Linked DNA regions of Homo sapiens: all the other regions are linked to region 1. Evidence: promoter capture Hi-C in human tissues and cell types (Jung and others, 2019). All regions are on one chromosome and are shown on one strand. Each heading gives the region's core, a stretch centred on a gene start or on the middle of the fragment in contact. The rest is flanking DNA. Distances are from core to core; before and after follow the strand shown.

Region 1 (2,589 bases), core at 59-2,558:
AACACCATGACACCTTATCATTAAGAGCGCTGATTGTTACTTTCCGAGCCTTTAGATGATCAGCCAGAAAGTGCAAACAACGCGGGGCTGGAGGGTGTAAAGTTATTTAAGCAGGCGTTCTTTTTTTCTTTTGGTGCGCAGTCAAAACATTTCACAAGTTAGGAAAAGAAAGTGGTGGTTCCGAAGCTCGGAATGATGGGCTCTTTTCCTCCTCCACCCCCCCACCTTCCATATCAGGAAAGAAATAAAACGCACAATGAGCCTTTATTTCAGGAGAGAAGACTTCAAAATACGTGCCAGTAATGGACAATTTGAGCTTTTCACTGGAAATACTCACACCGCAAGCTGGAAAGGGATTAAAAAGCCCCACGTGGTTGATCTGGGTTTATACTTGCAACCTCCAGTTCCCCACGTATGTTCTTTGCAAAGGTTGGCCTCTAGATGGATGCAAGTAAGGGACCCTCTGGGGCTCGGGCTCGGCGCCTCGGGCAGGGCTGACGTTGGGAGCGCTATGAGCTGCCGGGCAGGGTCCTCACCGGGGGCTTCCTCTGCGGGCCAGGGCTGCCGGGCGCCACCGGGACGCGAGCGCGCACGCCTCGGCCCGGCGGCCGCGCTCCTCGCACCGCCTTCTCCGCAGGTCTTTATTCATCATCTCATCTCCCTCTTCCCCTTCTCCTTCTCCTTTGCCTCCTTCTCCTTTGCCTCCTTCTCCTCCTCTTCCTCCCCCTCCTCCACCACCACCTCCTCCTCCTCTGCCGCCGCCACCTCCTCCTCTTGCATCTCACTGGCCTGGCTCTGAGTGACAAAGACAATGTCCCAGCCTTAACTTTGCAACCACCTTGCCTCCTTCTGGGGTTCAGCAGGGGGGAGGGGGAACAGCAGCAGCAGCCTCAGCATCTCCTCCAGCTTCTCCTTCTGCTCTTCTCGAGCTCTTGGATAATTCTTCCTCTTTTTTCCCCTAGCCTTTTTCCTCATTTCTTTCTTTCTTTCTTTTTTTCCTTCCTCTCTGCTGCACGTTGTTGTTGTTATTAGAAAGGCTTCGCGCACCCCCTGGTGCTCCGGCGTTTTGTGTGGCAGGAGAAGATTGTCTTCCTTCTCTCTTTCTGTCTTGCTTTCTCTCTCCCCCTGGTTGCTCATTATTCAGAGAGAGACACAGAGGGAGGGAGAGAGAGAGAGCGCGCGAGGGAGAGGGAGGAGAGGAGAGAGAAGAGGAGAGAGAGGGGAGAGAGAGAGTGAGAGGGAGAGGGAGGGAGGGAGAGAGAGAGAGAGGGAGAGAGACGGATATCTCAGGTCATCTGCAGCTGCAGCGAGTCTGAGGAGCCGAGGAAGGCAGGGAAGATGGCGATCCTCCATTGCTGAGACCCGGCAGAAGCACATGAGACTCCCAAACAACTTCCACAACAATAACCCGAGCAGGAAGAGGAGAAAGAGAAAGAGGATAAGGAGGCGGTGGGGCTGGAGAACCCGAAGCACCTCCCGGCGCCGGGACGCTTCTTCTGTAAGTTACTGCAATTAACAACCACCTCGGGGTGGTCCGAGTGCTCCGGGGAAGAGAGCGCGGGGTGGTGGAGGCACAAACGCGCTCATTCATTCGGCCAAGGAGGGTTGGAGGAGCGGGGAGGAGAGGAAGTCCCCTGCATGGACTGGCTGTTGGAAGAGGAGAAGAAGCGAGAGAGAAGAGGAGGAGGGGGAGGAGGGAGAGCAGGAGGGGGAGGAGGAAGAGGAGGAGGAGAAGCGAGGGAGGAAGAGGAGGAGGAGGAAGAGGAGGAGAAGGTGGTAGTGGTGGCAGTGGAGGTGGCTGTGCTTTTCCTGCTGGCTGCTGCTCCTGCTGGGGGGAGTGAGCGCGGTGGCTTAATTAATTTCGTGTAGTTCTATGAAGAGAAGAGAAAATGAAAGATGAGTGAGAAGAGAGCTGGAGGCTTAGGACGGATGCTCCGAGTGTGGGGACAGGAGTAGGGACAGAGGGGGGCGGAGGGCGGGAGGCCGGAGACCTGAGCCGAGAGCCAGAGGGAGCGAGCGAGGGTCAGAGGAGGGAGAGCTCCGTGCGAGCGGCCCCGACCTGAGCGGGTTGACCTCTTTCTTTCTCTGTCCCTCTCCTTCCTTTCCCCCTTCTGTCTGCCTGTCCCCCGCCCGATGGCAAAGCCGTGCGGATTGGCAGCCCCCCTCTTCCTCAGGTATTTGGCTCTCTCTCTCTCTCTCTCTCTCTCTCTCTCTCTCTCTCTCTCTCTCTCTCTCTCTCTCTCTCTCTCTCTCCCTCTCCCCGAAGTTGGGATGCGGGGTCGGGATGTGTCGGGGGGTGGCTGCTGCAGCTGCTGGTGCCGGTGCTGCTGGTGAACAGAGAGGCGAGGAGCGGGGGGCACCGGCCGGGTGGGGGGCGCAGGTTCAGGAGCGGCTGAGGAGCTGTCTCCAGGCTGGAGGTTCAGAAGCGTCTGGTGGAGGAGGACAACGGTTTCTGGAGAGGAGAAGCCATTACACACGCTTGGCTCTCCTCTGAGGAAGGGAGAAAGGAAGGCAGGGGCCTGGGGGGGCGTCTCACTCCTGGTGCAGTTCCCAGGGGTCTGCCCTCCTTCCAGGCACGAGGGGAAGCCG
Region 2 (2,589 bases), core at 36-2,535, 910 kb before region 1:
TTTTAGTATCAGGATAATGATGCTACTCTTTTTTCCTGTTTTCTGGAGGAGTTTGTGTAGAATTGTTATTTTTCTATTCCTCATATATTTGGTAGAATTCACCAGCAGGGATATCTTGCCCTGAAGGCTTTTAAATAAAATTTTTATAGAAAGGTTTTTTTTTGAAACAAGTAATTTCATCTCTTTAGTAGATATCAGGTTATCTATTTCTTCTTGATTGTGCTTTACTAGTTTTCAAAATGTATGTTTATTACATTTAACTTGTCAATTTTTCTTATCTTTTTAATATGTGTACTATTTATAGTTTTTTATTCCTGATATTCCTTCTTATTCCTGATATTGGTAATTTGCGTCTTCCCCTTTCCACCACTTTCAACTCAGTTCAGCTAGAGATGTAGGAATTTTTTTAAATTAAAGAATCATCTTTTGGCTTTATTTTATTTATTGTTTATTTCCTATTTCATTGATTTTTGCTTTTTATTTACTTTCTTCTGTCTGCTTTGGATTTACTTTGTTCTTTTTTTTCACTAGCTTCTCAAGGTCATTAATTACAAGTTATTCTTTTTTCTTTTTCCTGACATGAACATTTAAAGTCATAAATTTCCCTCTACTGCCTTTACTGCATCCCACAAATTTATTTCTATGTTGTATTTTTATTATCATTTGGTTTCAAATATTTTCTAATTCTTTGATTTTTATTTGACCCATGGATTATTGAGATATCTGTTGTCCAATTTCCAAACATTTGTAATATTCTAGCTATATTATTGTTATTGATTTATAATTTAGTCTTTTGTGGTCAAAGACCATACTTTGTATAACTTCAATCCTTTGAAATTTATCGAAACTTGCATTATGACATAACATATGTTCTATATTGGTGAATGTATCAAGTATATTTGAAAATAATATGTATTGTGTAGTTATTGGGTGTAAAGTTCTATAAATACAAATTAGGCAAAAACGAATGACATGTTCAGTTATTCTATGTATCTACTTGTTTTTTTTTCTAGTTTTTAAGTAATTTGCTGAAAGAGGGGTATTAAATTCTCCTGCTCTGATTGTAGAATCATCTATTTCTCGCTTTAATCTTATCAATTTTTGATTTGCTTATTTTAAAATTCTGTTATTAGGGACACACACATTTATAATTGCTATGCCTTTCTGATGAATTAATCCTTTTATTATTATAAAATATTCTTCATTTTTTTTCTAATACTCTTGAGATCTATTTTATCTGCTATTATCACAACCACTGTAGCCTTATTATGGTGACTCTTCATATGGTGTGTCTTTTTCTGTCCATTTACTTTCAACTTTTAAATTTATATTTAAGATATGTCTCTTGTAGATAGAATTTGGTTGGGTCTTCATTTTAAAAAATCCATTCTGATAACCTGTGCCCTTTAATTGCAGTGTTCAGTTCAATTAACATTTAATATAATTACTGATATGGTTGAATTTAGGTAGCCATTTTATTTTTTATATATTTTGAATCCCTCTCATTTGTCCCACCCTCATCTTACCTTCTTTTGGGTTATTTCAATATCTTAATTTCCATTTTAGGACACTTATTCATTTCAAATTATATTTCTGTACATTTCAAAAACATGTTTGTTCTATACATTCTTTTCACAGTTTATGCAGTCCTAATATGATAAAAAGTAGAATTATTGTAATACATAGATAGGTCTATTTACTTTCTATCTTACCACTCTTTAAGTTATAGTTGTCACATATATTACATCTAAGTACATGTAAATCCTACAAGAAAATGTCATACTTTTTGCTGTGAAATATCCTTTGAATTCTAAAGAAATTAAAAGAAGAAAGTGTTTTCATTTACCCATATATTTACCATTTATATTTCCTACTCTTCATTCATTCCTGAAAATCTAAGTTTTCCCTTGATATCATTTCCTTCAACTTGAAGACCTTTTTGTACAGTTCTGGTGGAGACCAATTTCCTTAGTTTTTCATTACCTAAAAATGTCTTTATCTCACTTTCCTTTTTGAAGCAAGCTTCACTGAATTTAGAATTCTAGGATGACAGTTATTTTCTTGTAACATGTTAAAGATGTTCCACTGTCTTCTAGCCTCTATAGTTTCTGGGAAAGGTTTGTGAGAAAAGTTTGTGATAATTTCTATCACTGTTCTCCTATATGGAACGTGATGTTCTTTTCTGGCTGCTTTCAAATTTTTGTCTTTCTCTTCCCTGAACATCAGTTTGGCTATAATGTACTTAGATATGGATTTCTTTGCATTAATTCCCTTTGAGGCTTTTTGAGCTTCCTAGATCTGTACATTTCCATCTTAAAAAAATTGGAGACGTTTTCTGGTATTTATCTTTAAAATATTTACCTGCCCCATTGTCTTTCTTGGTAAGATGTATTGAAATTATTTCATGGGTCCCTGAGGTTCTGCTTATTTTTTTTTTAATTTCCCCTACCTCTCTTATTCAAATTAGATGATGTTTATTGACCTATCTTCAAATTCACTGACTGTTTCCTTTAATCTCCATTTTGCTATTAGGACCATCCACTGAATTTTTCATTTGAGATGTTTTAGTATTTAGTACTAAAATTTCCA
Region 3 (2,589 bases), core at 30-2,529, 540 kb before region 1:
GAATTATTTTCACATTACATTTTGATTACTTCTTTAACCTAGCATTCTATCAAAAGGTATGCTTAAATTTCCAAATAGACAGATTATTTATTCTTCCTTGTTTTTGGATTCTGTGACAGAGAAAATGCCACGAGTTTACCCAACCCTATTTCAGGTCTCTTCTTTTCTGGGCAGGTGGAAGCTCCATACTCCCTAACACTTGCAGTTAGACAAGAGCACAAGACTAATTCTGGCCAATAAAGTGTGAGCAGAAGACATGTACAAGCTGAGTCAGTGAAAAGCCCTATTTCATTGCACAGGTCTTTGCTTTTCTGCCCTCTTGAGGGGTGAAGGCTAAGTCCTTTGTCAGGATAGCTGAATCACAGAGTGAAAGAATCTTTATTGACTGTAAACTAGTTCAACCATTGTGGAAGTCAGTGTGGCGATTCCTCAGGGATCTAGAACTAGAAATACCATTTGACCCAGCCATCCCATTACTGGGTATATACCCAAAGGACTATAAATCTTGCTGCTATAAAGACACATGCACACGTATGTTTATTGCGGCATTATTCACAATAGCAAAGACTTGGAACCAACCCAAATGTCCAACAATGATAGACTGGATTAAGAAAATGTGGCACATATACACCATGGAATACTATGCAGCCATAAAAAATGATGAGTTCATGTCCTTTGTAGGGACATGGATGAAATTGGAAATCATCATTCTCAGTAAATTATCACAAGAACAAAAAAACCAAACACCGCATATTCTCACTCATAGGTGGGAATTGAACAATGAGATCACATGGACACAGGAAGGGGAATATCACACTCTGGGGACTGTGGTGGGGTGGGAGGAGGGGGGAGGGATAGCATTGGGAGATATACCTAATGCTAGATGACGAGTTAGTGGGTGCAGCGCACCAGCATGGCACATGTATACATATGTAACTAACCTGCACAATGTGCACATGTACCCTACAACTTAAAGTATAATAAAAAAAAAAAAGAAAGAATCTTTATTGGTGAGGAGAAATAAACCAGAGGCATACCTAGAATGGATTTTGCAAGAAAAATACATTATTGTTTTGGGCTACTATTTCGGGGTTTATACCTTTATTTAGTACAGCCTATACTGATGAGTGCAAATCATTATTATTACTTCTGTCAATATCTTCATAGTCATTGGTATGTTCTCCTACCAACAAATTAGGAAACATTTCCTAAATTGTACATAGTAGCAACACAGTCAAACCAAAAATGTTCAGTAGAGGGGAAAGCCAACAAACTCTTCAGTACCATCAATTTAATGAAGTAGCTGTACTTGTGCTCTTAGTCTTCTATAAGCAAATGCAGTGTCATCCATTCAGTCATTCATTTACATTTCCCAATCCCCTATTCTTTATGGGATCTTGTGATGAGCTCTTTGGAATCCCACTATGAACAAGAACCCACCATGGAAGAAAGTGGCACGTTTTTCTAAAATTTCTGAATAAGAATGATTAAGGATGATCCAAAGCTGATGCTCTTTCCAGCATCTATGGCCTTTGATTCCTCAAATGGCTGCATCACCCATCTTTCTCACTCCTCCCATGATCATGGCTCATTATTGAATTTTTCTGATTTTGATTATTTTTCTAATTATCTCTTGTTTTGGGGGTTTTATTTTTAGCCCAACTGCTGCCTCTGATTTGAGCATTTTTTTGCACATGCTATTGTTTGCAGACACATTTTGGCTGAGACCTCATCTGATGAGCCATTTGTTAGTTCTGATTGAGTAGGTCACTTGTGGGCTCAATTAACCACTTGCCCTTCAACTGATGGTGCAAGTGGCCAATTGCACCTGCAATTAGCTAATTAAGGGTTTGGTCATTTCCATAGGCAATTTTGCCTTTATCTAATTGTGGGACTGCCCAAGCTTCCTTTCATCATTTGAGCATATACCAGCCTGTATGGGCAGAGGATGATGACTTTTGATGAAGGTAAAGTAGTAAAAAGAAAATGTAAAATTTTAATGCTCTAATGCAATTGTCCAAATTAGATTAAATATACAAATTAAAACTCTTGAATTTGTTCTGTTCATATTTTTTAAAGTCTCTATATAGATGGTTCTAAAATATTTTGCATAATGGGTATCTGTCTAAATATTTAGAATTCCTGAATTGATTTTGTGTGTGTGTGTATGTGTGTGTCTGCACATGCACATGTTGGGGGATTATGCATGTGAACTCATCCCAAGAATTTGCAATCCTGGTCTGAAAGAGCTGAAGGTACAACAGAACATAAATCATTCTCTCCTACAGAGAAATCAGGGTAAAAGAAGGCTGTAAGCTCGAGAGGAGAGGAGGGAATCCATCACTCCTAGCCTTTTGATAAATGCTTTACAAATAGCACTTAGTGGGCTGAATATTTCATACAAGATCCAGGGAGCAGACTGGAAGCACATTTTTTTTTAACTTAAAGCCAGGACAAAAGAACTGCAAACATCTCAGAACCCCTCTTCTGCCTGTAACATAAGCTGAAACCAGTCAAGTTCTTCTCATCTAGAAAGTAACCAGTTCGTAGACGACAATCAGAGAAAGCACTTATTGTCCAGAGTTTTCA

The links. The method cuts DNA at HindIII sites, captures the fragments that hold promoters and counts their contacts. A contact is called where the count stands out against the background at its distance.
Region 2: a fragment that was not itself captured here is called in contact with the fragment with the promoter of ZNF462 in region 1 in 2 of the 25 tissues and cell types used here (dorsolateral prefrontal cortex and lymphoblastoid cells).
Region 3: a fragment that was not itself captured here is called in contact with the fragment with the promoter of ZNF462 in region 1 in 1 of the 25 tissues and cell types used here (dorsolateral prefrontal cortex).

Annotation. Positions count from the first base shown.
Region 1 is chr9:106,861,858-106,864,446 of GRCh38, forward strand. It overlaps ZNF462 (zinc finger protein 462), which reads left to right and starts at 1,309. Exons shown (of 13, transcript NM_021224.6): 1 at 1,309-1,498. The HindIII fragment of the contact is 13,314 bases long and covers 1-2,589 here.
Region 2 is chr9:105,951,544-105,954,132 of GRCh38, forward strand. All of the region lies in intron 2 of LOC107987108 (a long non-coding RNA gene), which reads left to right. Among named protein-coding and RNA genes, the nearest start is that of TMEM38B, 260 kb to the left of the region's middle. The HindIII fragment of the contact is 3,247 bases long and covers 1-2,589 here.
Region 3 is chr9:106,319,316-106,321,904 of GRCh38, forward strand. The region is part of intron 3 of LOC107987108 (a long non-coding RNA gene); the gene reads left to right. It overlaps LOC124902240 (a long non-coding RNA gene), which reads left to right. Exons shown (of 2, transcript XR_007061716.1): 2 at 1-2,589. Among named protein-coding and RNA genes, the nearest start is that of MIR8081, 280 kb to the right of the region's middle. The HindIII fragment of the contact is 4,527 bases long and covers 1-2,589 here.